3 separate regions of the Homo sapiens genome follow, and regions 2 and 3 are each linked to region 1. The links are contacts of gene promoters, found by promoter capture Hi-C in blood cells and fetal thymus (Javierre and others, 2016). All regions are on one chromosome and are shown on one strand. Each heading gives the region's core, a stretch centred on a gene start or on the middle of the fragment in contact. The rest is flanking DNA. Distances are from core to core; before and after follow the strand shown. Region 1 holds the start of POLR2B (RNA polymerase II subunit B). Region 2 has its middle 3.2 kb from the start of DCUN1D4. Region 3 overlaps DCUN1D4 (defective in cullin neddylation 1 domain containing 4).

Region 1 (2,861 bases), core at 206-2,705:
CGAATTTTTCTTCTACTGAGATAGTAGTTAAAAAAGAACAAGGAATATAATGATGCTAATAAATTTCTACAACACAAGATATAAATGAGACAGAAGTTTAAACAGCTTTAAAAGTTTAAGCTTTTGGCTGGGCACATTGGCTCATGCTTGTAATCCCAGCACTTTGGGAGGCCGAGACAGGCAGATGGTTTGACCTCAGGAGTTTGAGACCAGCCTGGGCAACATGGCCAGACCCCATCTCTTAAAAAAAAAAAAAAAAAATTAAGCTTTTGCTTCAATTTTTTCCATCTGATTTATCAGAAGTACCTGAGGGAATAGAGAGAGGAGATGTAGGGGGTGGCCAAGGAATTGAGAGCTATAAGAAAATAAGGTTTGAATTAGCAGATATGGAGAATGGAAAAGGCGGCTACGAAAATACACTAGACTCAACTAAGAATTTTTTTTTTTTTTTTTTGAGACAGTCTAACTCTGTCACTCAGGCTGTGGTGTAGTGGTGCGATCTCAGCTCACTGCAAACTCCGCCTCCTGGGCTCAAGCGATCGTCCGGCCTCAGCCTCCCGAGTAGCTGGGATTACAGGCGCACGCCATCACACTAGGCTAATTTTTGTATTTTTAGTAGATACAGGATTTCCCCATGTTTGTCAGGTTGGTCTCAAGCGATCTGCACATCTCGGCCTCCCAAAGTGCTGACGGGAGCCACCGCGCTCGGCCACTACTAAGAATTCCATATGCGCAAACAAACAGGTATTATACATTGGCCCAGTGCAGCAGAATACATATCATCTGAGAACTGTGACATTGTGAGAAGAGGAAGTTAAAAGTCATCCTTTAAGACAATTTACTTTGACTTACAAACAGTATGAAGAAATGTCAGACTAAACCGAGTCCCCCCCGCCACCCCCACCCCCCGATATTCTCTGTCCCGGAATATTTCCAGGACCTTCCACACTGCCTGACACAGGCTGACACTCAACAATTGAGCTATTCGTTAAGTCGACTGTGGCTTTAAGGAAAATTTTTAAAGGGTGCCCTTTGCTTCAAATTCAAAACGTAATTTATCTTACGATTCTGCACGCTACTTCACCACAGGAAACGAGGATCAGATCTAACGGAACGAGAAAGTGCAGAGAGCAGCAGTGAACGTAACCTGGAACATTAACACTATGTTCCCTGCACCCTCCGCCTCTCCCTACCCCAGTTTCGTTCCCGGCCTGGTAAGTGTGGGAACAAGGCTGGGGACTGTGCAGCCGGCGCATGGGAAGGCCCCAAATCCTCAATCCAATCAGTTCCCAACGCTTTCCTGCTTAAATGGACCGCCACGGCGTGTGTTTTGAGCGTTCACCTACCCTCATCCGCGTCGTACATATTGCCAAACGGTTCTCGAGCTCCTAACTCTTGAAATCAAAAGACAAAAACCGCCCAGAAGCCAGCAGCGCCAGGAGCTAAAGACGAAGTAACTTCCGTCTCCGACGTTCCCAGAATACCACGCGTCTCACACCAAAGGCCGCCCACAGGGACGCCAAAGTTAGGATCTGCGCCTGCGCAAATTGTAGGTCAAGCTTGGGCCGGGGTTAGGGTTGCACACGCGTAAATTGTGGGCCGCCGCTGCCGGGCTGATTGAGAGGACAGCTCCCGCAATCTGCGGTCGTATCCGTTCCGTCAATGTTTTATTTCTGCTTGTTTTTCAATGTTGTTGCACAAATAACGACACCTGAAAACAAAACCAGGTATACTTATTATTAAAAAGTGTTCGTCCTGTGAATCCGCAACATTGGGATGCTCAATTTATTTGCCTTTATAAGGACCAAAACACGAAGCTATTTTTTATTTTTATTTATTTATTATTTTTTGAAATGGAGTCTCGCTCTGTCGCCCAGGCTGGAGTGCAGTGGAGCGATCTCGGCTCACTGCAACCTCCGTCTCCCGGGTTCAAGCGATTCTCCTGCCTCGGCCTCCCAAATAGCTGGGATTACAGGCAAGGGTCACCACGCCCGGGTAATTTTTGTATTTTTAGTAGAGACGGGGTTTCACCACGTTGGCCAGGCTGGTCTCGAACTGCTGACCTCAGGTGATCCACCCGCCTCGGCCTCCCAAAGTGCTGGGATTACAGGCGTGAGCCACGCGCCCGGCCGGAAGCTCCTTTCTGTTTTTGTTTTGTTTTGTTTTTTTGAGACAGGCTCGCTCTGTCGCCCAGGCTGGAGTGCAGTGGCGCGATCTCGGCTCACTGCAACCTCCGCCTCCCGCGTTCAAGCCATTCTCCTGCCTCAGCCTCCCGAGTAGCTGGGACTACAGGCGCCCGCCACCACGCCTGGCTAATTTTTTGTATTTTTAGCAGAGATGGGGGTTTCACCGTGTAAGCCAGGATGGTCTCGATCTCCTGACCTCATGATCCGCCCGCCTCGGCCTCCCAAATTGCTGGGATTACAGGCGTGAGCCACCGCGCCCGACCCCGGAAGCTCCTTTTTAAGTGTGATTTATTAAGGGCGGCTTGTGCTAGCAGTGAGGCGTTAAGCCTGAAAGTGAAAAAACCCAAAACACTCACTGCTCTTTTCTGCCCACCTAGCTCAATCCTCCAGTGCCTTTGCCATAGCTTTAAGTAGGTTCTCAGTCTCAGAGCTTAAATCGCGAGAACTGACGGGATTAGACGCAAAACCAACCAGGACAGCTCCCAAGTACCCACGCGCTTTCGTCTCGGGTCAAATGCGCGCCTCGGACCCTAGTGCGCGTGCGCGCTGGTGGCTCCGCCCCTTTGGAGCTACTTCCTCATGCTGCCCGCTCGCCTACCGTTCAGGCTGCTGAGCCTTTTCCTTCGTGGATCCGCTCCCACGGCAGCGCGCCATGGCCTCCGGGAGCCGCTCCTG
Region 2 (2,861 bases), core at 199-2,698, 5.1 Mb after region 1:
TGTTTCAGCTTAATCTACATCTAGGAAATAATAAATTATATGTCATTTAATACAAGTTTCAAATCTTTTGTGTGTGTAATATTTATGATTTTTTTTTTTACCGTTTACCATGGTACTTCAAAGACTGAGACACATGTTATTTTGCACAGAAAAGGGCTTCCTTCGTGACACCTCTAAATTACAATAAGCCCACAATTAATTATAGCTAGTCATTTGCTCTATTAATTTATTTGCAGCATACTTTATAATAATGTGTATAAGAGTTAAGCTAGATGAAGGATGGGTCGGCTGCTTTGCCCCAGCTCCCAACACTGGCCTGGCATATGCATGGTGTCCATAAAAATTTATAGAATGTACAACCTCTGTTATTTCTCAACATTGCTTTCAGTTGAGTCAGTATGATTATTTTCAAGTAGAAAACAGACTTAGAGGTAATTTACCCAGATCTTTATAAAGAGTCAGCTATAGCCTAAGGATTGAGAGGCAAAGCTCATTCCTAGTCGGCTGACCCTCACTGCCCCCACGTTTTACAAAGTATAATAAAATGACTACATAATGCTCTGCAAATATTACCTGGTCATTTAAATAATCCACACCATATAAACCTCTGATATCAGGAAACTTGTTATAGTTATCTTTTTACTTGCCTAGCACCTAGTACAATGCTTTCAAATATTGTGGTAGGCACTGGTTAACCATACCCCTTAAAATGAATGTTTACCGTACATGAAATTTTAGATCTGGATAGGAACCTTGGTGATTATCAAATCCAACATCTTCATTTTAAAAATAAGAGACTTGACATCCAAAGGAGTTAAATGTTTAATCTGAGTCACTTGGCTAGTTGATAACAAAACAGGGCTTAAATTCAGGTTTCTCAACTCTATCCCCTGTACCACACTGTCTAATATCAAAGCTTCAAATTCCAAAGATAGGTAAACTACTCTCCCTTCCCATCTGAAAGTTACTATGCCAATCTAATACAAGTCTGCTTCATGGTTGAAATGTTGCCTTCTTTTTTATGTATTTCATTCAGGATTTTTTTCAATATGTAAATCAATACTTCACTTTTTTTTTTCTCATTTGTAGTATTCCCAAAGAACATGATCCCCATGGAGAGGTTTACTGAGATAATAATGTTATACTTCTGTACATTTATATTTGAATCCCTGGAGAAAAAAATTAATAATTGAATATCTTGGGACTGTGATGGGTAGAGATATTTGGAGATGCAGTCTTTATGCCATTTCATTTCACCCAGTTACTGCTTTAAGGTAATATTGAAGCAAGTTACTCCATGTTAATGATACCTAATTTAATTGGAATTTTTCTATTTTATTAGTCATACAATATTAATTTTAATCAGATATATTTTGAAATGCCCTAAGCCTAGATTAGAATGTGATATGGAGAAGTCTAGTAAGAGAAAAAAAACAGCAGAGCTCTTCAATCAAATGTTACGCTTTCCCCTAAATTCTGCTAAGCCCACTGTAGCATGCTTTTCCTGCATGTGTTGGGATTGGGAGTAGGAGGAAGAATAGCATAGTTCTTGAGACTGAAAATAAGTTGGGCCTGCACAGACAGATAAATGTGTCCCTGGTAAGATTTAAAGAGAATAAGAAAGAACACAGGACAGAGAGGAATTAATTTGGCCTTAGATTACAGTGAGAGAGTTGGCAGAACTCCTTTAGTAATAAAATGTCAGGCTAGGTGGGTTTCTAGTATTTGGAAATGAAAATAAACCCCCTCCGAAAGGAGAATTTATCCATAGAGGGCAGGATAGTTTTCTTTCTCCAAATATGACCAACTGAATTTGCTGTCCCAAGTGATAACAACTTCTTTCTTAATGCTTCCTATGTGACGGGCACTACTCTAATAGTACTGTACTGGTAAACTAATCTACTTAACTTCACAACAACACAGTGGAGTACTAATAACTAATAGTATCCCCAATCTACAGGTAAGTTAACTGAAGCTTCAAGAGCTTCGGTAACTTGCCACCCAGCTAATAAGTAAACGTGCCCCTAAGTAGCCAGACTCCATGTTTTTAATATTCCTGTGTTGGGCTTTAGTTTCTTTCTTTCTTTCTTCCTTTCCTTCTTTTCTTTCTTTCTTTCTTTCCTTCCCTCCTTCCTTCCTTCCTTCCTTCCTTCTCCTTTCTTCCTTCCTTCCTTCTCCTTCCTTCCTTCCTTCCTTCCCTCCCTCATTCCCTCCTTCTCTCCTTCCCTTCTTCCTTCCTTTTCTCTCTCTCTCTCTGTCTCTTTTGAGACGGAGTCTCACTCTGTCGCCCAGGCTGGAGTGCAGTGGTGGGATCTCCATTCACGGCAACCTCTGCCTCCTGGGTTCAAGTGATTCTCCTGCCTCAGCCTCTCAAGTAGCTGGGATTACAGGCACACGCCACCACACCCGACTAATTGTTGTGTTTTTAGTAGAGACGGGGTTTTGCCATGTTGGCCAGGATGGTCTCAAACTCCTGACCTCAGGTGATCTGCCCGCCTCAGTTCCCAAAGTGCTGAGATTACAGGCATGAGCCACCGCACCTGGCCAGTTCCTTCTCTTTTTAATCAGGTTAATATATGCCCCTATATACCTCAGAGATTATTTATAAGGATACAATAATATGGTTGTTAACATGCTCTCAAAAGATAGTGAAATCAGGCTGGGCATGGTGGCTCATGCCTGAAACCCCAGCACTTTCGGAGGCTGAGGTGGGTGGATCACTTGAGCCCAAGAGTTTGATACCAGTCTGGGCCAACACAGGGAGACCCTATCTCTACAAAAAAATGCAAAATTATCTGGGTGTGGTGGCAGCTGCCTGTAATCCTAGCTACTCAGGTGGCTGAGGTGGGAGGATCCCTTGA
Region 3 (2,861 bases), core at 175-2,674, 5.1 Mb after region 1:
CAGATGGAAGGGGAAGCTGTTCAAAGCAAAAGAAAACTTATCATGGGCTCAGGGCCTTGTACACCCTGCATCTGCTAATCTCTCCAATCTCATCTTCTACTCATCTTCCCCTTGTTCATTCTACTCAGCCACAGTGAGCTTCCTACTGCTCCATTAACACTCCAAGAACACTCCCACCTCAGCGCCTTTGCACGTGCTGTTCTCCTTACCTTGAGCGCTCTTCCCCCTAATAATAACATGGTTGCTCTCATACTTCATCAGGTTTCCATTTTAATATCACCTTTGATGGATATGTTAATTAGTCTGATTTGATCACTCCACAATTATGCATGTATCAAAACATCACATTGTACTCCGTAAATATATACAATTATTTGTCAATTAAGGATAAAATTCTTAAAAATCACCTCCTTACATAACCTTGCCAGACCAACAGAGCCCCATCTTCACTCTATCATCTTACCATGCTTTGCTTTTCTTCACAGCATTAATACCATCTGACATTATATTATATATTTGTCATCATCCTCTCCCATTAGAATGTAAGCTCCACAAGGGCCAAGACTTAAATCTTGCCCATTGCTGTATCCCGTAATATTAATACCTAGAAGAGTACCTGGCACATATTAGGTGCTCAATAAATATTCAACAAATGAATAAACGCAGATACAAAGGCACCAAAGGCTTAAATTCAATACATTCAGGGCACTTCAAGTGATCTTCAAATGTGAGAAGTGTCATGGTAAGAGGAGACTGAACAGGAAGGCAAAGATCAGAAAATGAAGAACTTGTGAATCCTGCTTGAGCGTTTAGATTTAATCTCCTAAGGATCTGTACCTCAAACACAGGCACCAGAGACCATGCAAACGTAATGACAGGAATGGCACATTCCAGCAGCATCAATTCTAATCAGCAATAATATGACAGTCTTACATGAAAACAAACATAATCCCCACATCAAGCTGTGCTCCCAGGACCCTGAAACAACTTATTCCACCAAACTCTGTACAGGAAAACATTGGTGGGAAGTCTGAGAAGCACTCCTTTGAGAGTCTTGGTGCCATGGAGGTGTTCTGATCAGGAGAGTTATTTAAAAAGATCACTCTAGGACAAGTGTGCAGCAAAGATGATGGGTGATCTGAATTTAGAGTGGCCATTTATGGAGATGACTAGAAGTGACTGAGGTGGGAAAGCATTAGGGCCGTAAGTTAGACACTGGCTGTAAAAATGGAGAGGAGAGATTCTGAGTACACTGGAGTTGCAGAAAATAGATATTTAGCTTACACAAATTCAACTCTTCTCATTTGGTCAAAAAAAATAAAAAAGGAAGAAGCGAGATGAAAAGAAATTTCAGTTGTCTCACTAACTGCCCACCCTCCCTTCTACTTAATGAGCACGAGACATGACACATGAATAGTCACTCTGTTGGTCTCAGTTTCCACATGCCAATCAGATTTTGTGCATCTCACAATACGGTATGAGTCGAGTATTTAAAGTGATGTATTTTCATAAAACATGGTCCCTAAACTGAAGTTGAAGACGAGGCCAGATGCTTCAACTGGTGCTCAAATAAACAGCCAGAGATCTATTCCAATGCTGGAGGAAGGAATAGGCTGTGCTGGATTCTTCTGAGACAGCTTCCAAAGAGGAATCTTCTGCAAGTGTTTCCAGTGGTATTTTTAACACCAATGATCTTCACCTTACACAGGGACTTTAGAACCAACCTCTATATAAAATGTGATTGCAGTGTAAGGAAAAACTAACAGGACTGCATGTGAGAGATGAGCAAGTGAGGCACTCAATGGTTCATGTTCTTTTGTCCAATTCTCATTTTATTAGCTTGAGCGGAGTCAGAGAGCTAGCTATGGCCAAGCTGGGCAAAACTCTTATCTTCTAACTCCCAATCCAAGGCTACTTCTTCCATTCTAAATTATTTCCAATAAAAGCAAAAATATCAATCTAACTTTACACTCTGTAATAGGAAAAAAGCAGCAACGTTTCCTAACCAAAGCTGTCAACAAGCAACCACACACTTAAAGTAATTTAATATTAAAGAAAAAAATTTTAAAACTGGCTGAATCTAAAACAATTCACCATTTTTCCCCCAGGGAAATAATGGTACAGAAAAGATTTAACACCAGTGTTAACTTTCTATTTTTAAGCACAATTCGCTCTTCTGGTCACTAAAGCATCATCAAAGTGTTTTATTATTAAACTACAGCTGAACAATTCTCTCAGATATAAAAGTTTTAAACAGTATTATGCTCTTAACAAATGCTTTTCAAGTGACGATGAAAATGATGAAATAAACCTGTAAAGGCGGCAGAAGGAAAGGGCAAAATAGTGACCATGTTATTGCCAAAAAAGCAAAACAAAATTGGACAAAATTAAAGGTTACCATCTAACCTTGGCACTCATCTAAATGTCTCTGGAACAGAACAAGAACACGACTGAGGTATAGGGATCTGCCTCTCTAACTGGGATTCATCAGGGAATGCTTAAGGGTGTTTCAAGCCATGGGTCACATGGCTCAGCCTCCTGAAAAGTCAATTGTACCACGTGATATGGGAAAAGAAAACAAAAATTGTTAAAGCCAAGGCTGCACTGTGGTTGGGAGCCACTCTTTAGATTTGCCTTGTTTCCTTCCTTCTAGAAACACATGCCCTCTTTTCCATGGGTTTCAGATAGACTAGGGATGAGAATGTCAACGATGTGGAGCAGAGACCCATTCCAACCCACAAAGGATGCATTACAACCTTTTACTTGAATCACTGAGATGTTGTATTTGCTATTGCAGCATAAAAGAAAAAAAATTCTAGTCCTCACAAGGCTCTACGTGATCTGACCTAAGTCATCCCATT

Evidence for each region. The method cuts DNA at HindIII sites, captures the fragments that hold promoters and counts their contacts. A CHiCAGO score of 5 or more calls a contact.
Region 2: a fragment that was not itself captured here is called in contact with the fragment with the promoter of POLR2B in region 1 in 5 of 17 cell types (non-activated CD4 T cells, naive CD8 T cells, total CD4 T cells and 2 more); the score reaches 10.5 in non-activated CD4 T cells.
Region 3: a fragment that was not itself captured here is called in contact with the fragment with the promoter of POLR2B in region 1 in 1 of 17 cell types (erythroblasts); the score reaches 5.1 in erythroblasts.

Annotation. Positions count from the first base shown.
Region 1 is chr4:56,977,490-56,980,350 of GRCh38, reverse strand. POLR2B (RNA polymerase II subunit B) reads right to left here and starts at 1,455. Exons shown (of 25, transcript NM_000938.3): 1 at 1,347-1,455. The coding sequence starts at 1,365. NOA1 (nitric oxide associated 1) reads left to right here and starts at 2,745. Exons shown (of 7, transcript NM_032313.4): 1 at 2,745-2,861. The coding sequence starts at 2,766. RefSeq lists an enhancer at 1,082-1,181. The HindIII fragment of the contact is 1,293 bases long and covers 269-1,561 here.
Region 2 is chr4:51,838,479-51,841,339 of GRCh38, reverse strand. It overlaps a transcript of DCUN1D4 not described here. Among named protein-coding and RNA genes, the nearest start is that of DCUN1D4, 3.2 kb to the left of the region's middle. The HindIII fragment of the contact is 1,059 bases long and covers 919-1,977 here.
Region 3 is chr4:51,855,660-51,858,520 of GRCh38, reverse strand. The region is part of intron 1 of DCUN1D4 (defective in cullin neddylation 1 domain containing 4); the gene reads right to left. Among named protein-coding and RNA genes, the nearest start is that of DCUN1D4, 14 kb to the right of the region's middle. The HindIII fragment of the contact is 3,411 bases long and covers 1-2,861 here.